Regions from separate parts of the Homo sapiens genome. Here regions 1, 3, 4 and 5 are each linked to region 2. The links are contacts of gene promoters, found by promoter capture Hi-C in human tissues and cell types (Jung and others, 2019). All regions are on one chromosome and are shown on one strand. Each heading gives the region's core, a stretch centred on a gene start or on the middle of the fragment in contact. The rest is flanking DNA. Distances are from core to core; before and after follow the strand shown. Region 1 has its middle 24 kb from the start of OPTN. Region 2 holds the start of CAMK1D (calcium/calmodulin dependent protein kinase ID). Region 3 overlaps CCDC3 (coiled-coil domain containing 3). Region 4 has its middle 140 kb from the start of CCDC3. Region 5 has its middle 120 kb from the start of CCDC3.

Evidence for each region. The method cuts DNA at HindIII sites, captures the fragments that hold promoters and counts their contacts. A contact is called where the count stands out against the background at its distance.
Region 1: a fragment that was not itself captured here is called in contact with the fragment with the promoter of CAMK1D in region 2 in 2 of the 25 tissues and cell types used here (bladder and mesenchymal stem cells).
Region 3: a fragment that was not itself captured here is called in contact with the fragment with the promoter of CAMK1D in region 2 in 2 of the 25 tissues and cell types used here (dorsolateral prefrontal cortex and mesenchymal stem cells).
Region 4: a fragment that was not itself captured here is called in contact with the fragment with the promoter of CAMK1D in region 2 in 1 of the 25 tissues and cell types used here (aorta).
Region 5: a fragment that was not itself captured here is called in contact with the fragment with the promoter of CAMK1D in region 2 in 1 of the 25 tissues and cell types used here (hippocampus).

The regions. Positions count from the first base shown.
Region 1 is chr10:13,073,533-13,078,266 of GRCh38, forward strand. It overlaps a transcript of CCDC3 not described here. Among named protein-coding and RNA genes, the nearest start is that of OPTN, 24 kb to the right of the region's middle. The HindIII fragment of the contact is 7,650 bases long and covers 1-4,734 here.
Region 2 is chr10:12,346,279-12,351,026 of GRCh38, forward strand. It overlaps CAMK1D (calcium/calmodulin dependent protein kinase ID), which reads left to right and starts at 3,269. Exons shown (of 11, transcript NM_153498.4): 1 at 3,269-3,632. The coding sequence starts at 3,541. RefSeq lists silencers at 2,428-2,687, 2,728-3,287, 3,458-3,547 and enhancers at 3,584-4,083, 4,258-4,417. The HindIII fragment of the contact is 17,086 bases long and covers 1-4,748 here.
Region 3 is chr10:12,965,926-12,970,438 of GRCh38, forward strand. All of the region lies in intron 2 of CCDC3 (coiled-coil domain containing 3), which reads right to left. Among named protein-coding and RNA genes, the nearest start is that of CCDC3, 34 kb to the right of the region's middle. The HindIII fragment of the contact is 3,130 bases long and covers 1-3,052 here.
Region 4 is chr10:12,861,631-12,866,073 of GRCh38, forward strand. No RefSeq gene overlaps it. Among named protein-coding and RNA genes, the nearest start is that of CCDC3, 140 kb to the right of the region's middle. The HindIII fragment of the contact is 3,351 bases long and covers 1,047-4,397 here.
Region 5 is chr10:12,881,916-12,886,166 of GRCh38, forward strand. No RefSeq gene overlaps it. Among named protein-coding and RNA genes, the nearest start is that of CCDC3, 120 kb to the right of the region's middle. The HindIII fragment of the contact is 4,978 bases long and covers 497-4,251 here.

The sequences.
Region 1 (4,734 bases), core at 1-2,500, 730 kb after region 2:
ACTCTGTCACCCAGGCTGGCTCACTGCAACCTCCCCCTCCTAGGCTCAAGCAATCCTCCCACCTCAGCCTCCTGAGTAGCTAGGAGGCTACAGCTACAACTACAAGCACCTGCCACCACGTTCGGCTAATTTTTTGTAGAGACAGGGTTTCTCAATGTTGCCTAGGCTGGTCTCCAACTCGTGAGCTCAAGCAGTCCTCCCATGCCAGCTTCCCTAGGTGCTGGGATTACAGGCATGAGCCACGGTGGCCTGCCCAAGACATTTTTTTTAAATGAGAGATTTTAAAAGCTTAGCAATGAGAGAATAAACCCAACAGGTCTACCATTCCAACTCACCTTTGCTTTTTTCTTTTCTTCCCTTCCACAGTAGGAAGTATCCTCTCTCAGTACCTAAAGCTTTGATGTCACCTCCTCTAACAGGTACACCATGCAGTGTAGATCATTCCAAGTCTTTGTAAGCACTAAGTTACAGTCTCTTGAAGAATTCCATTGAACTGGTTCCAGAGTTGGTGTCTCTTTTCTAATCCTCCATTTATATGATAATCACTTGAAATTCAAGTCACCTGTTACTAGGATTGCAAGAAACAGAGGAATCAAATATATATATATATATATATATATATTTTTTTTTTTTTTTTTTTTTGAGACAGAGTTTCACCCCTGTTGCCCAGGCTGGAGTGCAATGGCGTGATCTCAGCTCACTGCAACCTCTGCCTCCCAGGTTCAAGCAATTCTCCTGCCTCAGCCTCCCGAGTAGCTGGGATTACAGGCATGCACCACCATATCCCGGCTAATTTTTTTTTTTTTTTTTTTTTTTTTTTTTTTTTTTTTTGTAGTAGAGACGGGGTTTTTCCATATTGGTCAGGCTGGTCTCGAACTCCCGACTTCAGGTGATCCGCCCACCTCGACCTCCCAAAGTGCTGGGATTACAGGCGTGAGCCACCACAACCGGCGGAATCAAATCTTTTCTTCTGGAGTTCTTTTAATGCTTTTAATCCAAGGTCCCAGCTCTCATGCTCACTTGAACTAACTCTCCCTCCCCCTCCCCCTCTCCCACTCCCTCAGCTTTTATAGATTTTTCTACAATACTTTCTCCTTACCCTTGTTAAAGCATTTGTTATCACTTCCATCCTTTACTGTTTAATCTTTCTCATAAGCACAAATACGCGTGCACACACATACACACACTCACATGAGTTCCCCGTGCCGGCTGCAAGTCTGGGTGCTGTTTTACTCAGCTATCTACGTTAGACCTGTGTTCCTGTTATTCCACAATATTACCACATTCCAGGAGGAGAAACCATTTTATTGTCTATTTCTTATTTTGATCCACATATCACATTAAAATGGAGCAAAAGAAAGGGTCTCAAACAGACAATATGAGTGCCTTCTTTAAGATGCTGGCCCTATAGAAATAGATTTCATGTTTTCCAAAGAGGACCCGGTACATCCCAGCCGCGGCCAGTCACTTGGCGCCATCTGCTGGACATGGACAAACAATCGTAGGCGGGGAACATCAGAACTGACGCATAGGTGCCCACTGCAAACCTGGCTCCCTGATGAACGAATGGTTTCCCACTGAAACGAGGCTTTACATCCCTTTATAACAAATCATCTCTCCAACTTCTTATCAATATCTCAGAAGCTAGGGAGTCTTTTCCACTATGGTTTTCCTATTTCCTCTGCTGGTGCATAAAGTGCCTTTGCTTTGTTTAACAAGCAATAAACAACTTTTTGTTTTGCGTATCACTGTATCCCCAGCATCCTGCATAGTGACTGGCACATGTAGGAGCTCCAAAATCAGTGGGTATTTTTGTTTCTTTGGCTTTTAAACGAAATAATAAGTGATTGATATCTGAGTCGGGGAAGATGACACACAGATATTCCTATTTTCATCAGACACGTTTGTTTTTTTGTTTTTTTTTTCTAGACGTCCCAGCCTGGGTAGGTGGGTAATGGTTTAGAAGCTCCTAAGGATGAACCTCTTCCCACCGCTAAAGTATTGAATCTGCTAAAAATAAGGGAAGAAACACTAATAAATAAATAAATAAACCAGGAAAAAACCCTTGTGGGGAGGGGAGACAAGAAGGAATAAAGACTTTGCATTATAGATTCTCCATGAAACCTGGCCTAGAATTGGATGAGCCTTCAATGCTCAATATACTTTTCAAAAATTGATGATTAACCAATTTGCTCAGTGCAATGGTTAATTTTATGTATCGATGTGGGTAGGCGCACGGGCATGGTGGCTCCACACCTGTAATCCCAGCACTTTCAGTGGCCAAGGTGAGCGGATCACTTGAGGTCAGGAGTTTGAGACCAGCCTGGCCAACATGGCTAAACTCTGTCTCTACTAAAAAAATAAAATAAAATAAAATAAAAATAGCCAGGCATCATGGCATGTGCCTGTAATCCCAGATATCCAAAGGCTGAGGCAGGAGAATTGCTTGAACCTGGGAGGCAGAGGTTGCAATGAGCCAAGATTGTGCCAGTGCACTCCAGCCTGGGTGACAGAGCAAGACCCTATCTTAAAACAAGCAAACAAAAAAACCTAAAATAATAGGGAAGCAGGTATCAGGGAAATAGGGAAGCAAAGGAGGCAGGTCTCGATGGCTAACTCAGTATGGGCAGAAGAGTCAAAGCTGCCTCCAAATTTCTAACTTAGCAAATGGGCAAATGTTGATGGCTGGAATTAAAACGAAAAATAGAGAGGATAAAGCAATTCAGCCAACAGTAATACATTTAGGATTGTTGTCAGAGGCATTCAAACCAGAGCAACTCCATCTTGGGTGAGGACTAGGAAAAATGAGGCTGGGACTTGCTGGGCTGCCCTCCCCGAAAGTTAGATATTCCTAGCCTCTAGATGTTTGTGGCTAAGGAAACAGATTGATAACCTTTACTAAACAGACCCAGACGTAGGAGTGTCCTGTGTAGAAAGCAAAAAGTTTCTTCCTCAAAGTTTCCCTTGTTAAAGAATAAATCATAAGTGTTAGAAGTAATAGTTCCTTTTAAAGACTAACTTCCTTCAAGCCTCCTTGCTTTGTGCTAATAACTCTTTGTTAAGCCCTATCCTATGTAGTTATTAAACATGCTCACAGGCACATAGTACATTCTATGTCCTTGTACTTTAACCAAGATATCTGTGCTGGACATGCTCACAGACATGTCCCAGCTCGCAGCCTATGCCCCTTCCTTATTTGGGAATGTTATTACTTTTCTAAGTCCTTTAGTAAGCAACTTCCTCCTTTCCCTTGTTCTCCATTGCTTTCACCTATTTAGAGAAGTTTTAAATTGTCAGCCAATCGGGTTCAGTTTATATTGTGAGGTCTGGCTCCAGCCAATGGAGACAGGACAGAGTAGCAGGGACAAGCTGCATAAGGGACAAAAATTGCTTCCCATTCCCTTTGAAAACTGGCACAAGAGAGGGATGCCCTCTCTCACCACTCCTATTACACATAGTGTTGGAAGTTCTGGCCAGGGCAATCAGGCAGGAGAAAGAAATAAAGGGTATTCAATTAGGAAAAGAGGAAGTCAAATTGTCCCTATTTGCACATGACATCATTGTATATTTAGAAAACCCCATCGTCTCAGCCCAAAATCTCCTTAAGCTGATAAGCAACTTCAGCAAAATCTCAGGATACAAAATCAAGTGCAAAAATCACAAGCATTCCTAAACACCAATAACAGACAAACAGAGAGCCAAATCATGAGTCAACTCCCATTCACAATTGCTTCAAATAGAATAAAATACCTAGGAATCCAACTTACAAGGGACGTGAAGGACCTCTTCAAGGAGAACTACAAACCACTGCTGAACGAAATAAAAGAGGACACAAACAAATGGAAGAACATTCCATGCTCATGGATAGGAAGAATCAATATCGTGAAAATGGCCATACTGCCCAAGGTAATTTATAGATTCAATGCCATCCCCATTAAGCTACCAATGACTTTCTTCACAGAATTGGAAAAAACTACTTTAAAGTTCATATGGAACCAAAAAAGAGCTGCATTGCCAAGACAATCCTAAGCCAAAAGAACAAAGCTGGAGGCATCACGCTACCTGACTTCAAACTATACTACAAGGCTACAGTAACCAAAACAGCACAGTACTGGTACCAAAACAGAGATATAGACCAATGGAACACAACAGAGCCCTCAGAAATGATACCACACATCTACAATCATCTGATCTTTGACAAACCTGACAAAAACAAGCAATGGGGAAAGGATTCCCTATTTAATAAATGGTGCTGGGAAAACTGGCTAGCCATATGTAGAAAGCTGAAACTGGATCCCTTCCTTACACCTTGTACAAAAATAAATTCAAAATGGATTAAATACTTAAATGTTAGACCTAAAACCATAAAAACCCTAGAAGAAAACCTAGGCAATACCATTCAGGACATAGGCATGGGCAAGGACTTCATGACTAAAACACCAAAAGCAATGGCAACAAAAGCTGAAATAGACAAATGGGATCTAATTAAACTAAAGAGCTTCTGCACAGCAAAAGAAATTACCATCAGAGTGAACAGGCAACCTACAGAATGGAAGAAAATTTTTACAATCTACCCATCTGACAAAGGGTTAATATCCAGAATCTACAAAGAACTTAAACAAATTTATAAGAAAAAAGCAAACAACCCCATCAAAAAGTGGGCAAAGGATATGAACAGACACTTCTCAAAAGAAGACATTTATGCAGCCAAAAAACACATGAAAAAATGCTCAT
Region 2 (4,748 bases), core at 2,019-4,518:
ATCACCGCACTCTACCGTGGCGACAGAGCAAGAATTTGTCTTAAAAAAAAAAAAAAGAAAATAAAGAAAAAAAAGAAGTATGCTTTTTCTTGAGGACCTCGTCCAGCTTAGAATAGCTTGATAATGCCAAATGAACATCATTACAGAAAGTCTGGAAAAGAAATAAAGCTCCCTACAGCAGTTCCACCAGTACAACAAATACCAAATAGCGGTCTTAACTCGATTTCATTTCTTTCTTTTTTTTTTTTTTTGAACAGAATATCACTCTGTTGACCAGGCTGGAGTGCAGTGGCATGATCTCGGCTCACTGCAACCTCTGCCTCCTGGGTTCAAGTGATTCTCCTGCCTCAGCCTCCTGAGTAGCTGGGATACAGGCGCACACCACCACGCCCGGCTAATTTTTGTAGTTTTAGCAGAGACAGGGTTTCACCATGTTGGCCGGGCTGGTCTCATACTCCTGATCTTAGGTGATCCGCCTGCCTCTGCCTCTTAAAGTGCTGGCATTTTACAGGCGTGAGCTGCCACGCCTGGCCTCAATTTCATTTCTTTATCCATTCGACACACATTTACAGATCAGTCAGTATGGGTAGGTTACCGTGTCAGGTGCTGGGAAACAGTGGCGAGAAAGTTAACAGGTGCCTTGCTCTCATGGAGCTTATAGCCTGGTAGGAAAAGTCACGGCCACAGGCCACGTGGAAGTTCTCATTTGCTTTCCCTTCATCTTTACTGTTCCTGTAAAATTGCCTTCTTTCTTTTTTTCTAATGGTTATTTTTATAGATTTAGGGGTACAAGTGCAGTTTTGTTACATGGATATATTGCGTAGTGGTGAGGTCTGGGCTTTTAGCTTAACCATCACCAGAATAGGGTACACCATGCCCATTAGTTAATTTCTCATCCCTTCCCCTACCCCACTCCAATGTCATTATTCCACACTCTCTGTCCACATATACACATTATTTAGCTCCCACTTCTTCTCCTTTTTTTTTTTTTGAGATGGAGTCTTGCTCTGTCGCCAGGCTGGAGTGCAATGGTGCAATCTTCGCTCACTGCAACCTCCTAGGTTACAGTGATTCTCCTGCCTCAGCCTCCTGAGTAGCTGGGATTACAGGCATGTGCCACCATGCCTGGCTAATTTTTATTTTTAATAGAGTTTCACCATGTTGGCCAGGCTGGTCTTGAACTCCTGACCTCAGGTGATCCACTGGCCTAGGCCTCCCAAAGTGCTGGGATTACAGGCGTGAGCCACCATGCCTAGCCTTAGCTCTCACTTCTAAGTGAGAACATGTGGTATTTGACTTTCTGTTTCTGAGTTATTTCACCTAAGATAATGGCCTTCAGTTCCAACTGCGTTGCTGCAAAAGACATGATTTCATTCTTTTTTATGGCCGGGTAGTAGAGAATCAGCACTTCTTCAGCTGTGGGGATAATAGCTGAGAATGAGAATTGTTTTCATGAGCTCTGGCGGCTGTTCCTGAGGCCAGGCAGCAAGGGCAACATAGCAGAGAACCAAATAGGAAAAGAGGAGAAGGAAACACAGTGGGAGGAAGGGAAGGAGAAAGAAAGGACAAGAAGATGCTGACTGTAGGCATGAGAAAGCGACAGTTGGGATCTTAGTTGACTTATGCCCTGGTTCCCACTGTTTGTATTATCTAACCTTTGGCACAAGTAAAATACATGATAGTTTTTCAAATGTTTCTTATTGAAGGGGATGCTGTTTGCCTTGAACTTTGGTAATGTGCCTCAAGTATAAGAGAGGTTCCTTAGTAATTCTTCTCACCCATCCGTGTTGGAAATTGGGTTTGTGGATTTATTCTACATCTAACCGGCAAGTAAATCCCCTCTTTGCTCTTCTCAGTTTGGAAAACCTTAAGCTAACCGTCTTTGAAAGATGGAAACTAGCATGGAGGTCCCAGGAATGGGGATGCCAGGGTGTCGTCTGACCTCTTTAGGGTCAGAGTAGGGGCTGAGGGAGAGCAGCTGGGCTGCCTCCACTTCAGCCAGAGTCAGAACTAGGCACAAGGTGCTGGATGAAGTTTCCTATTCAGGGAGCAGATTTTTTTTTTCCTTTTACAGTGAAATTGGAACAGTCCTGGGAAAATGGGACAGGTGTCCCCAGTCAAGAGACAGAGCTGTTTACCCAACTACGAGGAGAGGCCCTGAGGGAGGCGAAGTGTTGATACCAAGAAATCTAAAATTTTCCGATCAAGAGGTCGCCCCTGCAGGTTGGGGACCAGGGAACTGGAGCACGTGGGCTGCCCTCTGACAGGTGGACACCAGGAGTGGGGCGGGCAGGCCAAAGTACAGCTGGGAGATGGGAGTCCGGAGGGAATTCTCTGGGTTAGTTTTGGCAGTCCATAGGAAAGCAGGTGCCTGCCCCGCAACCCGGACACCCTACTAAGCCAGCCGCGGGTGGGCTCCTCCTTCGAGGGGACTGCGGGGCAGACGATCACTTCTTTCCACTGAGTCTCTGGGAGGAGACAGGGAGATGCCAGAAGGGGCCAAGCGTGAGCCAGGGCAACCAGGCCGGCCAGGCCCGCCGGCCGCTCCAGCCCAGCACCAGGGCGCCCGCGCGGCTGCCAAACACCCCCGGGAGTTTTGCTCGCAAAGGGACCACGAGGCAGCTGCTGGCGCGTCCTGCGCGTACCCGCCCAGAGGCTCCCCGGCTTGCTCCTCGCGGGTCTGTCCCGAAACTGACGTGAAACCGATTTGGTGCAATGCGAATGAGCTCCCGCCCGCCTCCGCCTCCATCCCAGCCGCCGCCGCCGCCCGTCGCCATAACAACCGGCCCCCACCCCCCCCACCCCACGCCTTGCCCCTCGGGTCCCCCGGGCCACAGGCCACAGCGCGGGAAGGCGCCCCGCCCTCGGCGCCCCGCATCCGGCCGCCGCGCACCCCCGCCCGCCCGGCGCTTCCGAGCCACGCAGAGGCGCCCCCTCCCGCCGGAGACGGGAAAGCCCCGGCGCCCCCAGACTGGGCTCCGTTTCCAGCTCCCGGAGGGGCTGGGGCTCTCCCGCGTGCGCCCCGCACCTGCCGGGGGCCCGTACCCGCCCTCGCCGGGGCTCCAGGGGGCACGACGGCCGTGGCCCGGCGCTCTTGGGAGGGGAGCGGGACATCCCCGAAGGCGGCGCGCTGGAGGCGGGGAGCGGCCGGGGCGCACGGAGAGGGCGGGGAGCCCGCGGGAGGGGGAGGAGGGGGAGGAGGGGGAGGAGGCGCGAGGTGGGGGGGAGCGCGGCGGGCGGCAGGGAGGGAGCGGGAGGGAGGCAAGAAAGTAGCAGAAAGTGAGGCTGGCAGGCGGCGGCAAAGGAGCCGGCGCGCGGCGGCGGCAGGAAGTCTGTGCCCGAGAACAGCAGAAATAAGAGCCAGGGAGGGACCGCGGCCGCGGCGGCGGCGGCGAGAGCGAAAGAGGAAACTGCAGAGGAGGAAGCTGCGCCGCAGCCCGAGCCGCCCGGCATCCCCGCCGCCTCTGCGCCCGCGCCGCGCCCCCGGCGCCCCCTCCCCAGCGCGCCCCCGGCCGCTCCTCCGCGCCGCGCTCGTCGGCCATGGCCCGGGAGAACGGCGAGAGCAGCTCCTCCTGGAAAAAGCAAGCTGAAGACATCAAGAAGATCTTCGAGTTCAAAGAGACCCTCGGAACGTAAGTGGGGACCGGGGAGGCGAGGGTGGAGGTGGCCGCGGCAGGGGCTGCACGGGCAGCTCCAGCTGCCGCCGCCGCCACTACCGCGGCAGAAACCCAGCCTGTCACCGCGTCCTCATTGTCCCGTTCTCGGCGCTGCGGAGCCCCCCCGAGCGCGCCCGACGCGTGGGCCTGCGACCCCCGGGTGGGCGCCGTTCCCGGGAGGGGGAGGGGGCAGCGCCGGGCTGTCAGGGAGCAGCCCACGCGGGCGCGCGACTTCCCACTTCTCCTGCCACCGCCGCCCTCTCCGCTGCCTTCTCCCCACGCGTGACTGTGGGCTGAGCATGGTGGGGATGGCTGTTTACCGGCTGTGTGCGTTTACTCGCCGTGTGCATGGGCGCACCGCGTTGGCGAGACGTGGTCACGAGAAGATCAGCCTCCAGTCGTTCCCATTTCTGTCCTTACATCATGTATTTCTATGGAATTGGCATCTGCACGTACGAGGTGTAGGCAAGACTTTGGGTGGCCACGCGAGGATGGAAGGGAAGGGCTTCGCAGTGCTCAGGGTCACACGTGGGCAGAGCCTCACCGGAGGGTCTGTGCATTTCACGCGGGCTCGGCCGCACGCGCCGGGGAGCGCGTCTCCAAGGGAGGGTCTGTGCGCGTCGCTGCGCGGGCGGTGCTCTCTCCGGGCTGCATCGAGTCCCATGCTGATGGCTGTGTCTCAAGAAAGCAGAAATAATCCGAAGTCGATGGCAGGAACGCTCCAAGCATGTGCTGCTCAGCTCAGCTGCTGTTCCCTTTCTGCCCAGGAGTTGGGTCTTGTTTGTTTTGTTTCGGAGCGGCTCAGAATAGGTGGGGAGGCTGATAGTGAAAGAGAATCAGGACCTGCCGAATGAGTCTGAAGTTCAAGTTATTTCCTTCCCTCACACAATCAGTATTTGCTCTGCATCAGTATCTGTCAGTGTGGATTCACGCACAGGTGTGCAGTCAGAAATGCCCATTTTGCAGGGGTTCATGGAGGTGTTGATTAGGCTGGGAAGAGAAAGGGGAGCTATTTCATGGGATAAATCAGTGCGTTGTTGGGTGCCCTTTCTTTCCTTCCTCCTTTTTTTCCGTGTGCTTGTTTTTGTGCTT
Region 3 (4,513 bases), core at 238-2,737, 620 kb after region 2:
ATTGAGTCTTGTGAAAGTGAATAAGGAGTTCATTTTTGATGACCACAAATCATTAAGTTTCTCCAGCACAGAGTGAATCCACCATCCCAGGCATTTTCTTAGGTCCCCTTTGCAAGCCTTTCACGAGATGTTCCCAAGGCTGGGCCTCACTCTATCACCGTCTGTGGGCAATAAGCCCCTGGCAGTAGCGTAAATAGGCTGTGCTGAAGTCAAAGCCCACAAACTCAGTTTCTCGTTTCTCAACCTTACTCAGTTACCAGCCTTACTCATATTACTATATGGTACTCAGTTACCAGCCTTACTCATATTACTATATGGTACTCAGTTACCAGCCTTACTCATATTACTATATGAGCAAGGTTGAGAAACTAGAAACTGAGGGGCTGTGGGCTTTAAATTCAGCACAGCCTATTTACGCTACTATCTATAGGAGGAATCTCCCTTCCCCAGCCTGCTAGTTTTTGTGTAATGAGTCTTGCATTACAAGCATGCTCCTGGCTTCTCCCCAGACCCTCACACCCCTCCGGGAACAGGCAGGGACTCTGATTCCTGTACTTGCAAACAGGAACAAAGCATGCCTAGCTCTCCCCTTTTCCTCTTGGGAGCCAGCTGGCCACAGGGAGTTCCCAGTCCAGTCTGCTTCTTATCGAAGCAGAAAATTTTAGAGCATCAGACACGCCCCAGACATGGGCTACGGTTTTCCAAAGCGACCTGTGCCTCCTAAGTCCATCTAACCCTGAGGTTGGGAATCATCCCTCTTGCCTACAGATACAAGCCACACTGTATCATCTTCATCAGTTAAGAAAGGAAATCTTTGACTCAGTTAAGTCAGAAAGTGGGTGAGGAAACCAGTATTTATTGGGCGCCTTCAAATTCCAACGTGTTCTAAAATGAAGAGGTTTAACCATACCTTACTTTGTATAGCACTTGACAATGTTCAAAACAGTTTCCCGTATCTTATCTCTTTGGGTCTCCTCAACAAACCTGGGAGGAAGGCAGGGTGTGGAAATGGAAACCCAGCTATTTTAAACGAACTGTCCAGGGTAACAGCCTGTATCATCTTCCAGATCTCTTTTGCTGGAGTCCCTTCATCTTCTGGGCTTCCTCCAGCTTTCTAAGGAGTTGAACAAGCTGAGCGATTTACCCAGGGTGAGGCAGCTGTGAAACCATGCCCCTCTCCACCTTCTCCCATAAATCAGTTTTGACTTTTTAAAGGCTGGTTCCATATGCAATGTATTGACTTTTGTGCCATTCCATAAACAGCATAGGTCTTCCTATAGTGAAATGAACCCAGAACAGCTCCAAGAGGTGACTTCTCCACCAAATGAACAGACATCAGCATAAGGTAATGAGGAAACAAATAATATATCATATTCTTTTGGTGGTGTTATAATCTCCCAGTAACTAACCACAAAGAAATTAAGATATGTGAACTGCCTAAGAATTCAAAATAATTATTTTATGTTCAATGAACCTCAAAAAATCAGAGAAATATCCCAATGAGTCAGGAAAATAATAAATAATCAACATTAGAAATTTAATAGATATTACAATTATTTTTAAAAAATCAAATTCTGGAGCTGAAAAATACAATTAATAAAAAGTTCAATAGAAAATATCAACAGCAAAATTGATCAAGGAGAAAAAAAGTCTGTGAACTCAAAGACAGGTTATTTGAAAATATGCAGCCAGCAAAGAAAGGAAAAAAGTGAAAAGGGATGAAGAAAGCTTCAGGATTTATGGGACAACATCAAAAGAACAAAAATACTTGAGTTACAGGAATTAAGGGAAAAAAACATAGGGGCAAAGGGGTAGGCAAGCTTAAACAATAGCAGAAAACATGCCAATTCTAGGGAAAGACACAAATATCCAGGTAAAAGAAAGTCAAAGTTCTCTAATCAGATTCAATCCAAACAAGACTATCCCAAGACATATTATCATCACACTGTCAAGTATAAAGACAGGTCGGGCATGGTGGCTCATGCCTATAATCCCAGCGCTTTGGGAGGCCGAGGCGGGCAGATCACAAGGTCAGGAGTTCGAGACCAGCCTGACCAACATGGTGAAACCCAGTCCCTACTAAAAATACAAAAATTAGCCAGGTGTGGTGGCGTGTGCCTGTAATCCCAGCTACTCTGGAGGCTGAGGCAGGAGAATCATTTGAAGCTGGAAGGCAGAGTTTGCAGGCAGCCAAGATCACACCACTGTACTCCAGCCTGGGTGAAAGAGCGAGACTTCACCTCAGAAAAAAAAAAGAAAATACAAACACACACACATACACACACACACACACACACACAGAGTATCCTAAAAGGAACAAGAGAAAACAGGAAAACAATATATAAAGAAGTTCCAATAAGGCTAGTGGCAGATTTCTCAGTAGAAACCTAAGCCGTGAAAAAGTGGGATGATATATTCAAAGTATTGCAGGAAAAAACTTGTCAACCAAGAACACTGTACCTAGCAAGGCTGTACTTCAGAAATGGAGAGAAAGACTTTTCCCAACAAACAAAAGCTTAGTAAGTTCATCACCAACAGACCTGTCTTACAAGAAAGGTTAAAGAGAGTTCTTCAAGCTGAAAGAAGATGCTAATGGGTAACAGGAAAATACATCAAAGTATAAAACTCATTTGTAAAAGTAAGTAGTCAAATTCAGAACAGTCTAATATTATAATGGTGGTATGTAAGTAACATTTATCTTTAGTATGAAGGTTAAAAGATGAAACTATTTAAAATAATAGCTATAATTTTTTAAGGGATATACAAGATGTAAACTGTGACATCAAAAACACAAAATGGGGAGGTGGATTAAAAGTATGGAGTATTATCATGCAATCAAGGTTAAGTTATTTACAGCTTAAAATAAATAGCCCATTACAGTATCTTTTATGTAAGCCTCAAGGTAATCACAAAGCAAAAATCTATAGTAGATACACCAAAGATAGAAAGTAAGGAATCAAAGCAAACTATGAGAGAAAATCATCTAATCATAAAGAAGACAGCAAGAGAGGAAGAAAGGAACAAAGGAACAAGCAAAAAACAATTAACAAAATGGCAATAGTACATCCTTACCTATCAATAATTATCTTGAGTGTAAACAGATTAAAATCTCCTATAAAAGACAAACTACACACCTGATAAGAAGTTAATATTCAAAACATACAGGGAACTGAAACTACTCAATAGCATGTAAACAAGTCAATTAAAAAATGGGCAAAGGACCCAAATAGACATTTCTCTAAAGACGACATACAAATGGCCCAAAGGTAAATAAGAAAATGCTCAACATCACGAATCATCAGGGAAAAGGAGATTAAAACCATAATGAACTGTCATCTCACACCTGTTAGAATGACTATAATAAAAAAGACAAGCAATAAATGATGATGAGGATGTGGAGAAAAGAGAACCTTTGTAACAGTTGGTGGGAATGTAAATTAGTACACCACTATAGAAAACAGTATGGAGTTTCCTCAAAAAATTAAAAATAGATTGGAAATTATGTTCAATTATGGTAAATATATAACAACACACACCCACAAATTAAAAATAGAATTACCCAAGGTAATTTAGTACATAAGATTCAGAAGCTTACGTACCCAGTAGTAAACCGACTACTGGGTACATATCCAAAGGATATGATAACAGTATGAAAAAGAAGCCAACCTAAGTGTTTATTGACAGATGAATGGATAAAAAAAGTTTTTTTATATAATATATATGGTAGGATATTATTCATTCTTAAAAAAATTTTAGAAATTTTTTAATATTTTAAAAAATATTTTAATAATTTTAATATTTAATATTCTAATATTTTTAAAAAATATTTTTAAGATATTCATTCTTAAAAAAAAAAGAGGAAATCCTGTCATTTGTGACAACATGGATGAACCTGGAGGAAATTATGTTAAGTGAACTAAACCAGTCACAGAAAAGCAAAATACCATGTGACCTCAGTTATATGTGGAGTATAAAAAAGTCAAACTCATAGAAACAGAGGATAAGACAGAAAAATAAAATACTTCAAAGGGACTCAGTGTATGCCTATTTAATGAAGCCATTTTAATTTAAAACAGGATAGCCTGCAATGCCTTATCTCAAGTTAAATTAGCTTCTTGATGTATTTTGGTAGTGTTTTTTCTAATGTATGGGTTTTTAGGGTTTTTTCATCAATGGTGGTCTCCAAGATGGTAATTTAAAAGTTACAGGAAGGGGTGAGTCACAGCTTTTCCTGGCAAAGGCTGAAGGATGAGGGGTGAGGGGAGATGTTGGTCACAGACGCAAAATTTCAGTTACACCGGAGGAATGAGTTTACAAAATCTACTGCATATCGCGGCAACTACAGTCAATAACACTATTATGGTGGTTCAATATACAATAGTTCAACTTTACCGTGGGTTCACTGGGGTATTAAATGCATTTTCAACTTACGGTGGGTTTATTGCTGTACAACCCCATCGTAAGTTGAGGTACATCTGTAGTATGTATTGGAAAATTGCTAAAAGAGTAGATC
Region 4 (4,443 bases), core at 1,472-3,971, 510 kb after region 2:
ATACCTAATGTAAATGACGAGTTAATGGGTGCAGCACACCAACATGGCACATGTATACCTACGTAATAAATCTGCATGTTGTACATATGTACCCTAGAACTTAAAGTATAATAAAAAAAATTAAAAATAAATAAATAAATAACCCACCCCCGCCGCCAAAAAAAACCCGTAAGGGAGTGGGCTATGCACTCCCTCAGCGTCTGAAGGCAGGATCTGAAGAAGGCATGTACCAGCCCCACCTTTCCCTGCAGGATGATGGTTCACCTTGGAAACTAATTACTTTTTAAAATTTTAATATAGGGTTTTAAATTATTTACCATCAGGAAAGCTGAAATGAACAAAGATTGACATCATATAACCCTGGCTTAAGGTCGCCAAATTTTGAGAATGTAGACTCACATAAATAAGTAGATTTATATACATAACAAGTAATTTTTTCACTGCTTCACAAGTTATTACAGGTAATTACTAAGGAAAGCTGACCAGAATACTGCCAGAGTTGCTACAGAATAACATTTGGGGCCACCTTGGTTGGAAATATACGGAGGCAGTTGAGTTGAACGGTAGACTGAGAAACTTCTCATCCACTATCTCTTTTATCATCTTGCAAAGTATTCACCAAGAACATTTGCTATGAGAAAAGTGACTAGATAGCATCCTTAATTTTACCAACAAGGTAATGATTTTTTATTACACATCGAACAACGAAGAATGTCAGACCCTTCAGATTTCTCACGACCAATTCTCCTTCTCAACTGTCAAGACTTTTTCATTGCAGGGATCTTGTCATGTTTAGTGTTTTTAAGATACAGTTTTCCCTTAAAATTGTTGACAGCATGAAGCTGTGAAAACATATCTGCTTCAATAAGCCAATTTTGTGAGTCATATTTTTAAAAAATATGTTGTTAAATTTAACCAGTGATGTGTTGTTAGACCCACTCTCCAGAAAGAAAAAAGAAAAAACAGAAAGTCCTGATTTGTTGTGTTTGCCAATTTCTGTGGTGTAAATCCTCCCACTGTGGCTGATTTCAAGCGACAAAGTAGTGTAACTAAATGCAGAGTTGGGAGGAGACGTGCATGGTTGATTCTCACAAGTTGGTATGAGCCAGGAAGAGCAGGATTCAGGACACCATGGATTTTAGCCACACACGAAAAGATGCATGCAGTCTATGTGTGAGGTCTAACAAATATGTAAAAGAGAACACCCATGTTACTCCACCAAAGTCAAGAAACAGAGCATCACCTGCACCCCAGCAGTCCACCGCATGCCCCTTATAATCTTCTTCCCTGTTAGTTAGCCACTTTTGTCACTTTTCTGCTATTGTTTTTACACCTTTTTTTCTTTTTTATCACATAAGTGTGCATCCCTAAATGTTCTGATTTAATTTCACCTGTCTTGAACTTTATATAAATGAAATTGGCCAGGCGTGTTGGCTCACACCTGTAATCCCAGCACTTTGGGAGGCCGAGGCGGGTGGATCACCTGAGGGCAGGAGTTCTAGACCAGCCTGGTCAATATGGTGAAACCCCGTTGCTACTAAAAATAGAAAAATTAGCTGGATGTGGTGGTGGATGCCTGTAATCTCAGCTACTCAGGAGGCTGAGTCAGGAGAATCGCTTGAATCTGGCAGGCAGAGGTTGCAGTGAGCCGAGATTGTGCCATTGCACTCCAGCCTGGGCAACAAGAGCAAAACTCCATCTCAAAAAAAAAAAAAAAAAAGAAATCATACTCTAAGTATAAGTATTCTTTTTGGCGATTTTTTTTTTTTTTGAGACAAGATCTCACTGTGTCACCCAGGTTAGAGTACAGTGGCATGACCTTGGCTCACTGCAACCTCTTCCTCCTGGGCTCAAGCCATCCTCCCACCTCAGCCTCCCCAGTAGCTGGGACCACAGGCATGCACCACCATATCTGGCTAATTTTTGTATTTTTAGTGGAGATGGAGTTTCACCATGTTGCCCAGACTAGTTTCAAACTCCTGAGCTCAAGCAATGTACCCACCTTGGCCTTCCAAAGTGCTGAGATTATAGGCATGAGCCACTGCACCCAGCCTCTTTTGTGTTTTATTTTGCTCAACATTATATTTGTAAGATTTATCCATGCTGTTGCATCTAGCTATAGTTCATTTTTTTTTTCTTTTTTTGTTTTGAGACAGGGTCTAACTCTGTTGCCCAGGTTGGAGTTCAGTGACACAATCATGGTTCACTGTGGCCTCGGCCTCCTCAGCTCAAGCAGTCCTCCTGCCTCAGCCTCCCAAATAACTGGGACTACAGGCACATGCCACCACATACAGCTAATGTTTTTGTATCTTTTGTAGAGATGGGATTTTGCCATGTTGCCCAGGTTGGTCTTCAACTCTTGGGCTCAAGTGATCTGCCTGCCTTGATCTCTCAAAGTGCTGGGATTACAGGTATGAGCTGCTGCGCCTGGCCTAGCTCATTCATTTTTATTGCTACACAGTATTACAACATAAAAATATCCTCAGGGATGTGCTGGAGGCAGCTTATACAGACTCATGAGCATTGATTGTTAAATGTTCACAAATTTTGTAAGCTAGTTAATGTCATGTTGGGAGCTTGAAATTAGCCATGATGAGTATATTTGCACCATGGAAATTAGCAAATGCTACAAATCGGGGCTTTTTCTCCCTGTTGTTAAACATCTGCCAGCATGCCATTGAATATACAATAATGTATTTATCCATCCTACAGTAAATGGGCATTTGGTTTGTTTCCAGTTTTTGACTCTGAATATTCTCTTCCATGTATACTGGTAAACGTGTGCTCACATTTTTAGAGGAGAGAATATAGCACAGAAGTGAAATTGTTAGGTTATATGGTATGCCGTGTTCAATTTTAGTTGATAATGTCAAAGAATTTTCCAAAGTGTTGGTACCAATTTACATAGAATCCTGGTTTTGTTTGCGAATTCTTATTACTCCTGTTATTCCTATTAAACCCATGATATTGCTGGAGTTTCAAACTTGTGCCAAACAAATGGTTGTATACTTAGATATGATTATGGCTTTAAGATGCATTTTCCTAATTTTTTTTTTTTTTTTGAGATGGAGTCTCCCTCTGTCTCCCAGGCCAGAGTACAGTGGCATGATCTTGGCTCACTGCAACCTCCACCTCTCAGGTTCAAGCGATTCTCCTGCCTCAGCCTCCCGAGTAGCTGGGATTACAGGCGTGCGTTACCACACCCAGCTAAGTTTTGTATTTTTAGTAGAGACGGGGGTTTCACCATGTTGGCCAGGCTGGTCTCAAACTCCTGACCTCAGGTGATCTGCCCGCCTCGACCTCCCAAAGTGCTGGGATTACAGGCGTGAGCCACCGTGCCCGGCCGCATTTTCCTAATTTCTGATGAGGTTGAGCACCTTTCCTTATGTTGTTTGGCTCATTTGAATTTTTTCTTGTGTAAAGTACTTGTTCAAGTTTTGCTGAATTTTTTACTGTATTTTTCTTATTGGTTTTTCAGAGTTCTTTTTATATTCCAGATATTCTAATATAAGTCTGCTGTTATACATTTCCCTCTATTTCTTTTTATCCCTTTCCTGAACAAAAAATATGGTCTATGGTTAATGTGGGTACAATTGTACAGACTCTAGGTTTATTTTGATCTTGTGTGTATGATTTTTTGCTTGGCCCCATTTCACCTTCTCTGGAACCACTTTGTTTCTCTGATCTAGAGTTACAATTTTAAGATGAAGTGTAGAGATTCCTCCATTTCTCTGAGACTCAAAGGGTCACGGAGAAGAGGGGATATTCGGCTTGGATTATGCATGGAGTCCTGTGCTCCACTCTTTGTCCTGGCTCAGATTCATTCATTCATTTATTGAGACAGAGTATTGCTTTGTCACCAAGGCTGGAGTGCAATGGCGCAATCTCAGCTCACTGCAACCTCCGCCTGCTGGGTTCAAGTGAGTCTCCTGCCTCAGCCTCCTGAGTAGCTGGGATTACAGGCACGTGCCACCACGCCTGGCTCATTTTTCTATTTTTAGTAGAGACAGGGTTTCACCATGTTGGTCAGGCTGGTCTCAAACTCCTGACGTCATGATCTGCCCAACTCAGCCTCCCAAAGTGCTGGGATTACAGACATGAGTCACAGTGCCCGGCCGGCTCAGATACTTTTAAATGCCCTAGGCCTACTTTCTCTAGCCAGTCTACTTCATTCTACTGGATTCTGGAAACTTTCTGAAAACCCAGCACAATGTCCTGGAAGACAGCAATCCTTATTGCACTTTCTGCAGATGGCTCATGGCAGGGTAATGGTAAAAGGAAAGAAGCAAGAGATTGTCATATGATCAAAAGACACACCTCTCCCCTAAAGCTTTCATTTATTAATGAAATGACACCACATAGTACTTATAGGAGAGGTTGCTCTTCGTCTGAGACTCCTGAAAGGTATTCTTGTCTGTAGAAACACATAAAATGAACAAAACA
Region 5 (4,251 bases), core at 1,736-4,235, 540 kb after region 2:
TTAGTTCCATTTCACAGATCCATTCCAGGGCTGTCTGACCTGAAAGCCTTGCCCTTGCGATTGCTCTAGCCAACCTTTCTAGGACTGAGATGAGACAACTACAGTGCAGGTCTACTCGGAAAGTCGCCACTTCTGCAAAGAAAGATCTCACATCTTCCCATATCACTCTGTACATCATCTGATGGCTTCGGTAAACAGGGAGGAAGCTTTGGGTAATGGAATGAGCAAACCCTCAAGGCCCTGGGGGCAAGTCTCAGCTCTGCAATTTACTAGTTGCATGACCTTGTGATGATAATAGCTGAATGAACTGAACTGCGTACTCCCAGAATTTTTATTTTGAAGCCCTACCCCCAATGTGATGATACGAGATGGAGACTTTGGCAGGTAATTAGAGTCAAATGAGATATAAAGGTAGGTGCTAATATAATGGCATTGGTGTCATTGTAAGAGGAGGAGAAGATACCAGAGAGTTTGCTCTCTCTGCCCAGGCAGAGGGAAATGCCATGTGGGTGCATAAGGAGAAGATTGCTGTCTACAAGCCAGAAAGGGAGCCCTCACCAGATCGAATCTTCCAGCATGTTGATCTGGACTTCCAGCCTCCAGGACTGTGAGAAAATGAATTTCTGTTGTTGAAGCCACTCGGTCTGTGGTATTTTGTAATAGCAGCCCAAGTAGACTCATACAATGGTGAATACCATTCTAAGCACTTTAGAGACATCAACTATTCTAATGTATAACTACGACGAAGATATTATCACCTGTATATTACAAACGAGAAGCCAAAAGCTTAGAGAGGCCATATGCCTTAGGGGTGAAAAGTTGTTCAAGTAATACACAAAAAATATGAGCACCAGCAGAAGGAGATCAGGAGTTGCCCAGTGCCAAGGATGACAGAGATTGAATGCAAAGGGGAACAAGGAAAGTTTTGGGGTGGTGGAAATATTCTGTATCTCATTTTATATCTTGGTGGTGTCACATGGGTGTATATATTTGTCAAAACTTACTGAGCTAGGCAGTTAAAATGGTTATATTTTATTGTATGTAATTTATGACCCAAAGATGATTGAAAATTAAAAAAAAGTGGTCGCAGCCAAAAAGAAAGATAGGAACTAGAGTTAGAACATTTGTGTCTGAACTGAATTCCAGCTCCACCACGTATTATTTATGTGCTTTTGATCAAGTTACTTAATCTCTCTGGGTCTCTCAGCCTTCAGTTCTTCATCTCTTAAATGGTAGTAATGTTTTCTCAATATATATTTTAAGACTGTTATGAAAGTATTTCATACTGTCTTTTATTCATGTATGCATTCATCCAACAAGCATATAATGAGCACATTCTGTGAGTCAGGCACTGTTGTTGGTAGGCAGGGCAGATGCACCATTCTGGGAAGTAGAGCAGGAAACCAAACAGAAGGGGGACAGGAGGCCAAGGTGGAGGAATTGCTTGAGGCTAGGAGTTCGAGACCAGCCTGGGCAACAAAGTGAGACCCTGTCTCTATTAACACACACACACACACACACACACACACACACACACACACGTTTGTATGTATATACATAAAACAGACAGGGACTCTGTGCCCATGGAACTAATTTTCTTTTTTCTAAAGAAGGGATTTATTAGCTTTTTTTTTTCTTTTAAAAAAAACAACTTTTATTTTAGGTTCAGGGGTACATGTGTAGGTTTGTTATATTGGTAAACTCTTGCCACAAGGGTTTGTTGAACATATTATTTCATCCCCCAGGTACTAAGCCTTGTACCCAATAGTTATTTTTTCTATTTCTCTCCCTCCTCCTACTTCCACCCTTTGGTAGGCCCCTGTCCCTATTGTTCCCCTCTGTGTATCCATGTGTTTTCATTATTTAGCTTCTACTTATAAGTGAGAATATGCAGTATTGGGTTTTCTGTTTCTGTGTTAGTTTGCTAAAGATAATGGCCTCCAGCTGCACCCATGTTCCTGCAAAGGACATGATATAGTTCTTTTTATGGCTGCATAGTATTCCATGGAACTAATTTTCTAAAAAAGGAGAGGAAAGGCCATAGACAAGTAAAACAACAAGTGCAGGTAGAAATACATGCTATGAATGAAATTAAACAAAGTAATGTCATTACCTAGGGAATATATTGGAGAGAATGCACAGGGAAAGGCTTCCTGAACCTTCAGGGGTGTCTGAACCAAGTTTTAAAGAAGGAAGAGGAGATCGTGCAACGATCTGAAGGAATGGGTCTCCAGGCAGAAGGAATAAGAAGTGCAAAGGCTGGAATGAGCTTGGGCAGTCAAGGAATAGAAAGTCCGGTATGACTGGAGAGGAGTGAGCCAGGCTGAGGGTTAAGGAACAGGAAGAATAGCTCAAAGTGGGTTTGTGGCGAGCCTGGATCAAAGGCTATGTTGTGGAAAATTATTCATGGTGGGGACAACGGTGGAAGCCAGCAAATTTGTAGGATGTCATGACACTAGCACAGGCACCGGGGGCTTGGACCAGGCTGGTGGTCTTAGAGAAGGAGCAAAGCGCGTGGACTCTGGATACACGCTGGCGATTGGGTCAACAGGGCAGGCTGCTGTATTGAGGGAGGGGAATGAGAAAGTAAAGACTCAAGAATGGCTCTGAGTGATTTTAACTTCTGCAGCTGGGTAGATGTTGGTGCCCTCTGCCGAGGGAAGGAAGTGTGAAGCAGGAAGCCTGGAGCTCTGGTTTTGACTTGCTAAATTAGACATGCCTGTTAGACAACCATGTGGAGATGGCAGGTCTGCAACTGGATATGAATCTGGAGCTCAGAGGCAAGGTCAAGGCTAAAGATGTAAGGAAATGCCCAGAGCAACGTACAGCGTTTTGTTGTTACCTCTCCTTGCATTCACTGCAGGAATGACCACTTCCTCCTGTCACCTTCTAAAGTATATTTCATTCTCCCTAGATGCCTACAGGGGTGGGGGCAAGGGAGTGGGAGCTCAAGTGTGAGGGCAGGAAAGGGAGGCGAGCACAGAGATGGTCCTCATGGTTCTCAGTAGACATGAGACACGATAGCCAGTCACTGCACTCCAGTGAGTAGTCCGTTTCCTGAGGGATCATATATATTTGCAGGCTCCCTGTAAGGAGACAAGGTCCAGCTCTGTCACCCAGGCTCAAGCACAATGGGGCAATCATGACTCACTGCAGTCTTGACCTTCTGGACTCAAGCGATTCCCCTGCCTCAGCCTCCCAAGTAGCTGGGACCGAGTCACGTGGTGCATGCCACCATGCCTGGCTAATTTTTGTATTTTTTGAATAATCAGGGTCTTGCTATGTTGCCCAGGCTGGTCCTGACCTCCTGGGCTCAAGCAATCTGCCCACCATGGCCTCTCAAAGTGCTGGGATTACAGGTATGAGCCACCACGCCTGGCCAGTCCTTCTCATTTTAAAGACTACCTTCTGGCTGGGCATGCTGGCTCATGCCTGTAATCCCAGCATTTTGGGAGGCCAAGGCAGGCGGATCACTTGAGATCAAGAGATTGAGACCATCCTGACCAACATGGTGAAACCCCGTCTCTACTAAAAATATAAAAAATTGGCCTGGCACGGTGGCTCACACCTGTAATCCCAGCACTTTGGGAGGCCGAGGTGGGCAGATCACGAGGTCAGGAGTTTGAGACCAGCCTGGACAACATGGTGAAACCCCGTCGCTACTAAAAATACAAAAATTAACTGGGCATGGTGGCAGGTGCCTGTAATCCCAGCTACTCAGGAGGCTGAGGCAGGAGAATCACTTGAAATCAGAAGGCAGAGGTTACAGTGAGCTGAGATGGTGCTATTGCACTCCAGCCTGGGCAACAGAGCAAGACTCCATCTCAAAAAAATAAATTAATTAATTTAAAAAACCCAAAAATTAGCCAGGTGTGGTGGGGTGCACCTGTAGTCCCAGCTACTTGGGAGGCTGAGGCAGGAGGATCACTTGAACCTGGGAGGCGGAGGTTGCAGCGAGCTGAGATTGCACCGTCCCGCTCCGGCCTGGCGACAGAGTGAGACTCCATCTCAAAAAGCAAGCAAACAAACAAACAAAACAAAAAGACTACTTTCTAAGAAGCACTTTCTCGACCATCCTATCTAAAATGGGTCTTCTCCCTTAGCTTCCACTCCCATGGCAGCATTTCTTCAGCCAGCACAATGTTGGTTTCACTGAAAGCAGTCGTTTGTAATGATAATGACTAGTACTAGTTCAAGTTCATTGTCTCTCTCCACCATTGGAGAGAGAGTTTGACTCTATGTTGGAAGGAG